4 separate regions of the Homo sapiens genome follow, and regions 1, 3 and 4 are each linked to region 2. The links are contacts of gene promoters, found by promoter capture Hi-C in human tissues and cell types (Jung and others, 2019). All regions are on one chromosome and are shown on one strand. The core of a region is centred on a gene start or on the middle of the fragment in contact, and the rest is flanking DNA. Distances in the headings are between cores, read along the strand shown.

Region 1 (2,982 bases), core at 29-2,528, 61 kb after region 2:
GGGGGCTGGTATCAATTTAGAGATGTAACTGAGTCAGAGGGAGAAAATATCGTAAGCTTAGTCAACAGCATATTAGAAAGGAAAATGTGCCTGAGATGCACTAATTCAATTAGCTGTTGTCATAGTCACTGTCTCTGAGCAAGGGCTCTGAGCTGGATGCCAGACCAGCAGGGTGCCAGACTGAGAAATGAAATGCAGGATACATATCTAATTTGAATTTTAGACAAATAATGAATCATTTTTTACTCTAAGCGTAACTGTAATAGGTTAATTGCCTGACACTCCTGTCAAATCAATACACCCAGACACGGGGTTGCAGCAGAGAAAGAGGTTTAATACAGGTCCACTGAGAAGACAGGGAGGAAACTTCAAATCTATCTCCCCAGGGAGTCAGGGGCTGGGGGTTTTTTGTTGTTTGTTTTTTGTTTTTTTTGAGACAGGGTCTCTCTCTGTTACCCAGGCTGGAGTGCAGTGGCGCAAAAATGGCTCGCTGGAGCTCGACCTCCTGGGCTCAAACAATCCTCTGCCTCAGCCTCCCATACAGCTAGTATCACAGGCGTGTGCCCATGCCTGGTTAAAATTTTTTTTTTTTTAATAGAGACAGGGTCTCACTTTGTTGCCTAGACTGGTCTCCTGGGCTCAAGCAATCCTCCCACCTTGGCCTCCCAAAGTGCTGGGATTTCAGGTGTAAGCCACTTCGCCTGGCCTGGGGCTAGGGTTTTTAAGGGTTTTGGAGAGGGCTGAAGTGGGGAGATCGTTGATTAGGCAAAGAGTGCATGAAGTCATGGGACAAGGAAATGAAGAAACTATTCTTATGTTGCTTTCATTCCTCTGTGGAGGTCTTCAAACTGGTTGGCATCAGCTGTTTCACTGGAATTCAGGGACCTGAAAAACATCTTAAGCAATTCTTAAACAAAACCCTTATGATTCTTTTTTTTTTTTTTTTTGAGATGGTCTCACTCTGTTGCCCAGGCTGGAGTGCAGTGGCACAATCATGGCTCACTATAGCTTCAACCTCCCCAGGCTCAGGTGATGCTCCTACCTTAGCCTCCCGAATAGCTAGGACTATAGGCACAAATCCACCACACCTGGCTATTTTTTGTATTTTTTGTAGAGACGGGGTTTTGTCACGTTGGCCAGGTTGGTCACTGAGTTCAAACGATCCACCTGCCTCAGCCTCCCAAAATGCTGGGATCACAGGCCCAGCCAAGCCTTATGATTCTAATGTCAGAGATCCAATCTAAAGGAACAATGGGGATTCAAGTGGTCAGTATCTAGTGCTATGCGACTTTCTGTTACAAGGAAGTGGGTGAAAGTGCAGCCTCATTATGCTTAATTATAACTATATTTCTGTCCAAGATTCTTGTTAAGCCTGTGAGGACAGCTTCATAAGTATGTCCTAAACACTAGGGACATACTCATACTACAAAGTGACTCATTGCTTATCTGAAATCAAATTTACCTGGGAGTTTCTGTTTTATCTGAATCTGACTTGATCCTGCTCTTAGAGGACCAAGCTTCCAGAATCTAATGACCACCTCAAAATTAGTGATCAGGGCTGGTCGTGGTGGCTCACACCTGTAATCCCAACACTTCAGGGGGCCGAAGCGGGTAGATCACCTGAGGTCAGGAGTTCGAGACCAGCCTAGCCAACATGGTGAAACTGCATCTCTACTAAAAAGACAAAAATTAGCCAGGCATGGTGGCAGTCACCTGTAGTCCCAGCTACTCGGGAGGCTGAGGCAGGATAATTGCTTGAACCTGGGAGGCAGAGGTTGTAGTGAGCCGAGTTCGTATCACTGCACTCCAATCTGGGTAACAGAGTGAGACCTTGTTTCAAAAAAAAAAAGATTAGTGATCAGCACTGATGGGGGTGAGAGGTGGGAGCGGGGAGGTGGGTAGAGACCAAAGGAGATGATAAGAAAGAAAACAGAGGCCAGATGTAGTGGCTCATGCCTGTAATCCTAGCACTTTGAGAGGCCAAGACCTTGAGGTCAGGAGTTTGAGACCAGCATGGCCAACATGATGATGAAACCCTGTCTTTACTACAAATCCAAAAGTTAGCCAGGCTTGGTGGTGCACGCGTGTAATCCCAGCTACTTGGGAGGCTAAGGCAGGAGAATTGCTTGAACCCAGGAGGTGGAGGTTGCAGTAAGTCGAGATTGTGCCACTGTACTCCAGCCTGGGTGATAGAGAAAGACTCCATCTAAAAAAAAAAATTAAATTAAAAAAGAAAGAAAAAAGAGAAGGTTTGAGAATGACTTTAGGAGGGCCTGCAGCTAGAAGGAGCAGGTGAGTTATAATCTGATCATCTCTGGTCACCATAGAAACCAGCTGTAAATTCAGCCAGAATGAGCTGATGAGCTCCAATATCTATGCCTCTCTGCCAGTGTAGACAGTCCACACTCCCTTCCTCCAAGATCTAGTCTTGTCAGACCTGCTTCCAGCCGGAATCCACCCCAGTCCTCTTCCTCTCAAGCCTCTTGTTCCTCTTTCTAGCCACAGTTCCAGGTGACTGCCCATCAATACCAACCCCGCTGGGAGAGACAGGCAGCAAGATACCCAGTCCTTGCCCAGGAGGAAGTCACATTCTAGCCAGGGAGTAGACTACACTGGAGAGAAATGGCCCAAGGATACACAGCAAAAGCTTGTTTAAAGAAAAAACAAAAGCAGGTGTGACCTGGCTTGTCTGCCCGCATCTTTCTGTCCTTTCCAGGGTAAAGCAACTCTCTCTTAATCCAGAATGTAATTACATTGATTGGGAAAGCATTCAGTCTTTCAGACAAGCCACATGCTGGCAGTAAGCATTGAATACAAATGCAGGGTTTGCAGTGACTGGAAGTTAGAGCCTGCTTGCAGGTAGCATGCAAATGTGTTCAAAATGTCCCCAACTTTGGGAGAAAAGGCTGGAAGTCTGGATCAAACTCGTATGCAAACCATGAGGAGTGCTTTTGAAGGCACAGCGGGCTAAGGGCTTTCTCC
Region 2 (2,976 bases), core at 258-2,757:
TGGGGTGTCATTGGAGGAGTGTAGTGTCCGGCAGTGACAGGTCAGCCCAGCCTGTGGGTAGACAGTGCTCCAGCTTCTGGCTGACTGCCTCCTGAGTCTGCTCTCAGTCAGGGGCCTTGGTGTCTCTTCCCTGTCTCTCTGCCTGGCCCATGCCAGGGTCCTGTGAAGGACTTTTTAACCCTTCTTGGCACTGAGATTTGCATTCCAATCATTCTGCTCACTCAGCCCATCCAAGTCTGGAGTTGTTTAGAGCTGGGCAAGGCCTGTGGGATCATCTGCTACGACACCTCGTTGAAAAGATAAGGAAACAAGGCTCTGAGAGGGTCAGTAATGCCTGAGTTTCCACTACCCTTCCCACCTCACCACCATAGCCACCATGTTTGACAAATGAAGAAACTGAGGCATAGGGACCCCCTCTCCTGCCCCAGTTCCCGCAGTCTGCCAGTGAGCCTCCTGCTCTGGGCCCCACCTGCCCAATTCCAGCTAGATCCCGGTTCTGCTGGGATGCCCTAAGGTGGTGGCAGGTGCTATCTCTGGCAACTCAGCCTAAGCCCAGCCTGGTGCACGGGTGCAAGACAGGAACCATGGGAGTCGGGACAGCCTAGAAGCCCCTGGGAGCGAAGCAGGAGGCCTAGACTCCCAGCCTGTGCCTTCTCAGCCAGTTCCAAGAACTGTGCTGACCTGGGAAGGCACACATTGCCTGAGAACAGGGCTTTCCCTTGGGTGTCAGCTCATGTGTGCCCAGGTCCACAGCTGGGCCCTGCCTGCTTCCAAGACAGCCAGAGTCTGGCCCAAGGGAGGAAGGAGTGTGGCCTGGGAGGAAGGAACGCTTGGCTGAGTCCCAGTGCTGTCACGAAATCACTGCGTGCCCATGCGTGTCACTTGACCTCTCTGGGCCTCCATTTCCTCATCCATAGGATAAGGGCAGGACAGCGAGGCCCCAAGTGCCTCCTGGCTGCAATATGCTGTGATGAGGGTGGAGGGTGGGGTGGGGAGGGGCTCGCTCTGCCTTCCTTGCCTTCCTGTCTGTTTCTCTGTCATTAGTTTATCTCCAGCAATCCAGGCCTCTCTGTCTCAGTCTGTTGCTCTCTCTGTTTCCATCTTTTGCTCTGTATTTTTCTGCCCGCCTCTCTTCTTTTTCTGTCTGAGTGCACCTCTGATTTTATCTCCTCCTCTGTCACACAGCCCCCTTCCCTCAGTCCTACACTGCCTTTCTCCCATTCTCCGTAGTTATCAGCGTTTCGCTGTCTAGTTTTCTCTGTCTCTCGGGCTCGCTCTCTCTCTCTTTCTCTCTCTCTGTCCTGCCCGGGCTCTCTCGCGGCCGCCCCTCCCGTCCCCTCCGCCAGCCCCCCTCCTCCCTCCTCGGCGCGTCTCCCCAGTCCTTATTTGGCTGGGCGGGAGGGCTGGCGGGAGGAGGCGGCCTGCGGGCGGGGGGCGGGGGGCGGGCGCGGGGCCGGGCGGAGGAGGGCGGTGGGTGGTGCTGAAGGGACAGCTCCGCGGCGGCGGCGGCGGCGGCGGCCCCGGGCGCTGAGCGGGTGCCCGGCGCGGAGAGCGGCGAGCGCAGCCATGCCCCAGGCCGCCTCCGGGGCAGCAGCAGCGGCGGCCGGGGCCGAGGCGCGGGCCGGGGGCGCCGGGGGGCCGGCGGCGGCCCGGGCGGGACGATGAAGCGGCAGAACGTGCGCACGCTGGCGCTCATCGTGTGCACCTTCACCTACCTGCTGGTGGGCGCCGCGGTCTTCGACGCGCTGGAGTCGGAGCCCGAGCTGATCGAGCGGCAGCGGCTGGAGCTGCGGCAGCAGGAGCTGCGGGCGCGCTACAACCTCAGCCAGGGCGGCTACGAGGAGCTGGAGCGCGTCGTGCTGCGCCTCAAGCCGCACAAGGCCGGCGTGCAGTGGCGCTTCGCCGGCTCCTTCTACTTCGCCATCACCGTCATCACCACCATCGGTAACGGCTCGCCGGGCGGGGGGCGGGAACCCAGGGCTGGGCGCGGGGCTCCGGGAGTCGTCCGGGGCCGGCTGGGGCTGGGGGCGGGGGCTCCCCCGAGAGGGGCTGGGCGCCGAACCCTGCGCTCGCAGAAACCCGAGTTCAGCCTGGCGTGTGTGCTCCGCGGGGACGGAACTCGGGGAGGCGTCGATTCCTGGCTCCGGACCTGACTCTCCGGCCGGGCCAGCCCTAACTTGGCCCTGCCATGTTGCATAGGCCCCCAGGGACTCCGAAGTGTGTGAGAGGGGCAGGGACGACCGGCGGAGGCTCGGGCAGGAGGGGTGTGGCCGGGCCAGGCCCTGAACAGGGCGCTGAGAGTGAGCGGCGGGAGAGCGCCAGTGCTCCGTATCCCTGAGGATCGGCTTCCACAGCCTAGCAGGTCTACACCTGCTGGGCTCTGGGGAGGCATGAGGATGTCGGAATGCGGCACTTCGGGGCACTTGGGGCCACCCTATAACGGCGGCTGTGAGTGTACGTGTGTCTGCGTGTTTCAGCTCCAGGAGTTTGGTCGCCACCAGTCAGTGCCTGTGATTTTCTCAGAGCGGCAGAATTGGTGCGGGAAGCCAGATCTGGCCTTGTCAGCCTTCTTCTCTGCTGTCCCAGCAAAACAGTCACCTCACAGGAATAACCCCAGTTCTTTCCAAGCCAGGGCAGATCACCATGTAGGAGGCCACACGTACACCCAGACTGTCAGACAACACAGGCATAGGCACACATGCACACAGATACACACAGGCACTCACAGGGTACACACAGGGCGGGCACACACACACACACACACAGAGAGAGAGACAGAGAGAGAGAGAGAGAACAAACGTTGCCCAGGAAAGGAATCTCTAGCCAGGCCCTTGGTGGTGCTATTCAAAACTGTCCAGACGGGAATAACACCTTACCTGTCCCCAACACCCTATGATTTCAGCCCAGCTCCATCACTACCGTGATATATGACCTTGGGCAAGTCCCTTCCCCTGTCTGGGTCTCAGGCTCACCTCC
Region 3 (2,891 bases), core at 327-2,826, 35 kb before region 2:
ATTACAGGCGTGAGCCACCGCGCCCGGCCTTGCTTTGTTCTTTATAGAAGTGTAGCTACTTCTTGGGAGGGGCACTTGAGGGATAAAAGAGTATAAATTGGGTACAATGTATACTGCTCAGGTGATGGGTGAACTAAAATCTCAGAAATCACCACTAAAGAATTTATCCTTGTAACCACAAACCAATCGTACCCCAATAACTATTGAAATTAAAATTAAAATTTAAAAAAAAGTGTAGCTACTTCCAATCATGCCTGGCCCTGACCAGAGTGCCCTCAAAAGGCCTCACCAACATCCAGCCCACAGGTATCAAGTTTATATCTCGATTTCTTCAGAGAAGAGTCCATCATGTACTTTACTGCAATACAAGCCTAAGAAAGCAGGGTTCCTCAGGGAACTAATGTGGGCATCTCCATCCAGAGGAGGGTGACCAGGGAGGAGGGGGATCTAGAAACCATCTCAGAAGTAAAATGAATTTGGGATTTTTTTTTTTTTTTTTTTGAGATAGAGTCTCACTCTGTTGCCAGGCTGGAGTGCAGTGGCACAATCTTGGCTCACTGCAACCTCTGCCTCCTGGATTCAAGCGATTCTCCTGCCTCAGCCTCCCGAGTAGCTGGGATTACAGGCACATGCCACTATGACCGGCTAATTTTTGTATTTTTAGTAGAGATGGGGTTTCACCATGTTGGCCAGGATGGTCTCGATCTCTTGACTTCATGATCCGCCTGCCTCAGCCTCCCAAAGTGCTGGGATTATAGGCATGAGCCACCGTGCCCGCCTGAATTTGGGATATTGAGTCTAGGGAAGAGCCAATCGGGAAGAACATGCAATTATTAGTGAGGACTCTCACTCCTAAGTGAGAAAAATCCAACCAAGTAAGTTAAGCAAGAAAAAAATGTATTGGCTTATGTAAAAGGGCAAGTCAAGTAAGCTTCAGGAATGGCTGGATCCAGTAGCTCAACATGTCCTCAGGGTTCTCTAAGTCTCTCTCTCCTTCACCTGATCGTTTCTACTTGGCATTATCTATGGCTGGATCTTGTGCCTCAAACTAAATCCCTGGGGCTCTGTCTCATGCCATCTATCAAACATTTTCTCTCCACATGGCAAGAAGCCTTCTTGGTCACCAGTAGCACTAGATTCTTATCCTATCAGCTTAGAGACCCCACCAGAATGAATTGGTTTCCTCTAGAAGCTCTTTTGGGAAAGTCCTAGGCCCAAACTTGAATCACAGCCCTGTCCCTGAAACAGTACCCATTGCCCGATCAGGCATTCCTGTTGGCCTGGCCTGGGTCATGAGCACACTCCCTGGTTTTGAGAAGACTGCAGTCAGCTCTGCCTTTCACATGAAAAAGGTTCCCCACAGGAAAGAGGGGTTCTGTTACTGCAGCAGGGGTGGAAGAGGTGCTGGGCAGATAAAAACAGCAGACGTCCACTGCAGCTGTCTATAAATTCATGAGAAATCCTGGGGTGTTTCCCTGTAATGCAAGTTTGATCACACCACCATCTTGCTTAATATCCTTCAGGGGCCTACAAGGTAAGTTCAGCTTCCTTCAAATGGCATGCAAAGCTCTCCAGGCTCTGGCCCTGGCACCCTGCTCAGGTTCACCTCCAACCACTCTCTGCCCACCTGCCCCCCGGTCCCTGGCACATCCCACCCAGAGCCAGTCAGGTCTCACTCTGTCCTCCCATGTGCCAGGCTTTCTCCTAATTCTACAGCACACCCAAAGGCAAATTAAGAAAAGTTTCCTGAAATCTGAGGGGGAAAAGAAAAGTACACACCAGAGTGCAACCTATAACTGTTCTTAGAAGTGGCTCTGCTGAGAGCACCTAGCCCAGAGCTAACTTCAAAGCCATGGCCGGGTGCAGTGGCTCACGCCTGTAATCCCAGCACTTTGGGAGGCCGAGGCGGGCAGATCAATTGAGGTCAGGGGTTCGAGACCAGCCTGGGCAACATGGCAAAATCCCGTCTCTACTAAAAATACAAAAATTAGCTGAGTGTGGTGGCGCATGCCTGTAATCCCAGCTACTTGGGAGGCTGAGGCATGAAAATCGCTTGAACCCAGGAGGTGGAGGTTTCAGTGAGCCAAGATCGTGCCACTGCACTACAGCCTGGGCGACAGAATGAGACTCCATCTCAGAAAAAACACAAACCCACAAAGTCCTTCACAGGCCCCCTCCCCACCTCACCCATCAGCTGCCTGGAGCTGGAAGGATAAATCTCCTCCCACCACCAGGCCTATCGCAACTATCCCCTTCCTTGGAGTCCAGGTCTAAGCAACTCTCCCCACCTCCCCAGCCCCAGGAAGTGTTTTTTTACTCTCACTCACATCTAAGATCTGCCTCCCAAACCCTCTTGCCTGCACCAGAATTAGCCTCTTTCTTGCATTACTGATAATAGGGATATCAAAAAAATGATAATAAAATACTGGCTAGGATATTTCCCCAAAGCTAGGATGGGCAGGTTAAAATAGCACCTCAGTGGGACACCAACTCCCAGGTCCAGGATGGACCGAGCAGAGCCCCGTCGGGCTCATTTGCACTTTTTCTCCAGCCTGAGCTGAAGAAGTGAGCCCTTCTCTCCCACATTCTTCTCCACCGCAGCTCCTTATCTTGTGCAAACAACTGATCCCAGAGTAACACACAACATTGCAAGGACACATCAATTTCAGGCATAAGATAGTCACATTCCAAATTAGGAGATGGTGGTGCTCTAAATAAAACAATCCTCAGAGACATAATTCAACAAATTCATTAAATGTATATTACTAAATGGTATTAACATCTCAGACTAAGTAATCCCCTTTAGAGGCCCGTCAGTGCTTTCCCATACTCCCCAAGAATGATAGGTAGACCCTGGCTGTTTTATACTAGCCTAGCTCAAAGGATCAACT
Region 4 (3,066 bases), core at 222-2,721, 51 kb before region 2:
GCCCAAACACACAAACACACACACACCTCTCACACTATTCACTCTCCCCCACAGCCCCACGAGAAGGGTATTTGGCCACCTCCACGTTGAATGAAGTTTCTTCCCCACTGGACAGCGGTCCGCATGACAACAGGGAGCGGGGCTGCTCACCACCCCACCCTCAGGGCCTCCACGAGGCCAGCACATCACAGGCACCGGAGAAAGGGCAGGGAGGGAGGGAGGGAGGGAGGGAGGTGGAGAGGGAAGTCTGGGCTTCAGTCATGCATCCAAGTTTACCCAGCCAGTGGACAGCCAAAATGGGCTTCAGACATAAGTTCCCCAAGTCCTTTCCTTGTTCTCCTCATTATTCCAAAGAGGTTCTGTCCAGCTCCATGATCCTCTGAAGAAACCTCACTTTGGATCCCAGTAAAAGGTTAGCAGCCTAAAGCCTGGTGTCTCATTCAGCTCCAGTGGGGCTCTGCGGATCGTGGCCCCTGGGCCCTCCCATCCCTGCCTGCCGTGTCCCAGCCCCATCTCCAGGGCTGTGTGGCTCTGAGCAGGGACCACACTCAGGGACCAGCGTGAGGCTGTATTAGGGCAAGAATCCAGCTCAGAGGGAGGAGCTGGGAGAAGGAAAGAGGGGCGGGGCTTCTACTCACCACAGAATTTCATTTCTGGTCAGGAAGGTCAGGGCCTGCAACAAATCACAGAGAAGCGACGTGTCCACTCCATTCATCCCTGCTGTGGCCCCTGGGGAGTGGCGCAATTCAGAGGCTGGGGAGGAAATGCCCATTCTTTTGCTGCACAGCTGGGGGAACCCCAGGTTGAGGTGGATGCCTGAGGTGGCAGCAGGAGAGGAAATGGTGCTCTTTCTTACCCCCTAGTCTCTTACAGCCCTGGGAAGGAGGGCATTGGCACAGATGTGGAGAGCAGATCAGAGACAAGAGTGAAACTCTGGGCTCTGGTGCAGGAGACAGATGGAGGAAGGTAACCTTAGAGATCTCATCTGGGCCACATGGATGCAGATTTAGCAAAGAGAGGGACCACCGCTACCCCGCCTGGTAAACTCTAGAGCAAGCTTGTCCAACCCACGGCCTGCAGGCCACATGCAGCCCAGGACAGCTTTGAATGGGGTCCCAACACATATTTGTAAACTTTCTTAAAACATTATCAGATTTTTTCGTGATTTTTTTTTATTAGCTCATCAGCAAGCATTAGTGTTAGTGTATTTTATGTGTGGCCCAAGACAATTCTTCTTCCAATGTGGCCCAGGGAAGCCAAAAATTGGACACCCCTGCTAGAGCGTCAGGAAGGAATTTTCCCATTCATTCCACCTGCTTTAGGAAGCTCCCACCTCTGCCCAGAGTCCCTAGCCCGATCTACCCACCTGGTACTCTTCCAGGTCCTCCCAGTGCATCTGATACCTCAAGCATTGCCCCATGCCAACCACACCTTTCTGTCTGCCAGCAGTAGAACCTCAGCCTCAAGGACTCGCCAGCTGAGGCACCTCGTTGATCCAGTTGCCATGGTGACCTACATTCCACCTTCTGCCCATTCCACCTGAGTTACTGAGTTGGCAAAGAAACAAATTCTTTTCATTCCCATTCCACCTGAGTTGCTGAGTTAGCAAAGAAGCAAATTATTTTCAATCCCAAAGCTAAGAGGCATCAGTCCCATACAACAAGCAGAAAGGCAGTCCAAAGATGGGGCTGAGAGTCACACTGTCAGCTCAGGAGTCACAGTGCCTGGGCTCCAATCCCAGATCCACCCCATTGTAACCTGGGACAAGCTCTTCAATATCTGTGTGTCTTAGTTTCCTCATCTGTAAGTGGGGATGATAATCATGGGATTGTTGTGAGGATTGACGAATACAGGGAATAATGTCAGGCACATAGTAAGTGCTCAATAAATGCTAGCTATTTGAACCACAACCTAGCTGGGCATGGTGGCTCACGCCTCTAATCCCAATACTTTGGGAGGCCAAGTCTGGTGGATCACTTGAGGTGAGGCGTTTGCTACCAGCCTGGCCAACATGCAGAAACCCTGTCTCTACCAAAAAATACAAAAATTAGCTGGCATGGTGGCATGACCTGTAGTCCCAGTGACTCCAGAGGCTACGATGGGAGAATCGCTTGAACCTGGGAGGTAGAGGTTGCAGAGAGCCAAGATCGCACCACTGCACTCCAGCCTAGGACCCTGTCTCAAAAAAACAAAAAAACCCTACAACCTGCTGGGTGCAGAGGTGCACACCAGCACACCTGTAGTCCCAGCTACTCAGGAGGCTGAGGCAGGAGGATCGTTTGAGCCCAGGAGTTCATGGCTGCAGTGAGCGATGATCATACCACTGCACTTCAGCCTGGGTGACAGAGCAAGACCTTGTCTCTAACAAATCAAAATAAAAAATAAACAAGGAACCACAACCCCAGGACTATGCCAGGCATGGGGATGCCGAAATATATCAGCATAGATCCAACCTCAGGGAGTGGCCCAAAAAGTACAGAAAAGGGCGTTCCACCCCATCAGTCAGGGTCTCTGCAGGAACAAAGGGCACCATCAAATCAGGATCATGTGAAAAGGGTCTAAAAAAAGGACTCTCCACAAAGATGTGTTCAGGGTGTAGGGAAGTCACATGGATAACTGGATAACACAGACTCCTGAGCCCAACAACAAAGAGCTGCTACCCGACCCAGCACCACCCACCTGGAAGCACCACCCCAGCCCCACTCTCTCCTCTTTCTGTGATCTCCTACAGGGAAGAGAACAGGGCGGAGCAGGATGGGCAGACAGAGACAACGTCCAGCACAGGCATCAACATCACAGGCCAGGAGGGCCTTCCAGAAGCCATCACTCCCTCCCCTGCCTCCAGGAGGGTCTGCACACCCACCTTTGTCATGAAAGGCTGGTCTCCTTGTTCTAGAACACATCTTCCCTATGCTCTCCTGAGTAAACATCCCAGTGATTCTCTGATGACGCTTATTTATATCTCTGAAGTGCAACTGCCTGCTTTTTCTTTGACTGTCCTCCATGGGGATAGAGCCTGGCAGAAGGAAACCCGGGGCCCTCATTCCTTCATCTGCTCACCAGACA

What was found. Contacts are between HindIII fragments. The study calls those that stand out against the background at their distance.
Region 1: a contact is called between a fragment that was not itself captured here and the fragment with the promoter of KCNK3 in region 2, in 8 of the 25 tissues and cell types used here (H1 embryonic stem cells, IMR-90 fibroblasts, aorta and 5 more).
Region 3: a contact is called between a fragment that was not itself captured here and the fragment with the promoter of KCNK3 in region 2, in 2 of the 25 tissues and cell types used here (mesenchymal stem cells and spleen).
Region 4: a contact is called between the fragment with the promoter of CIB4 here and the fragment with the promoter of KCNK3 in region 2, in 4 of the 25 tissues and cell types used here (mesenchymal stem cells, mesendoderm cells, neural progenitor cells and 1 more).

What each region holds. Positions count from the first base shown.
Region 1 is chr2:26,752,714-26,755,695 of GRCh38, forward strand. No RefSeq gene overlaps it. Among named protein-coding and RNA genes, the nearest start is that of SLC35F6, 10 kb to the right of the region's middle. RefSeq lists enhancers at 324-1,071, 1,072-1,819, 1,820-2,567. The HindIII fragment of the contact is 6,016 bases long and covers 1-2,982 here.
Region 2 is chr2:26,691,215-26,694,190 of GRCh38, forward strand. It overlaps KCNK3 (potassium two pore domain channel subfamily K member 3), which reads left to right and starts at 1,508. Exons shown (of 2, transcript NM_002246.3): 1 at 1,508-1,944. The coding sequence starts at 1,662. The HindIII fragment of the contact is 34,558 bases long and covers 1-2,976 here.
Region 3 is chr2:26,656,530-26,659,420 of GRCh38, forward strand. No RefSeq gene overlaps it. Among named protein-coding and RNA genes, the nearest start is that of CIB4, 17 kb to the left of the region's middle. The HindIII fragment of the contact is 8,435 bases long and covers 1-2,891 here.
Region 4 is chr2:26,639,895-26,642,960 of GRCh38, forward strand. CIB4 (calcium and integrin binding family member 4) reads right to left here and starts at 1,472. Exons shown (of 7, transcript NM_001029881.3): 1 at 1,367-1,472; 2 at 639-673. The coding sequence starts at 1,420. The HindIII fragment of the contact is 6,817 bases long and covers 66-3,066 here.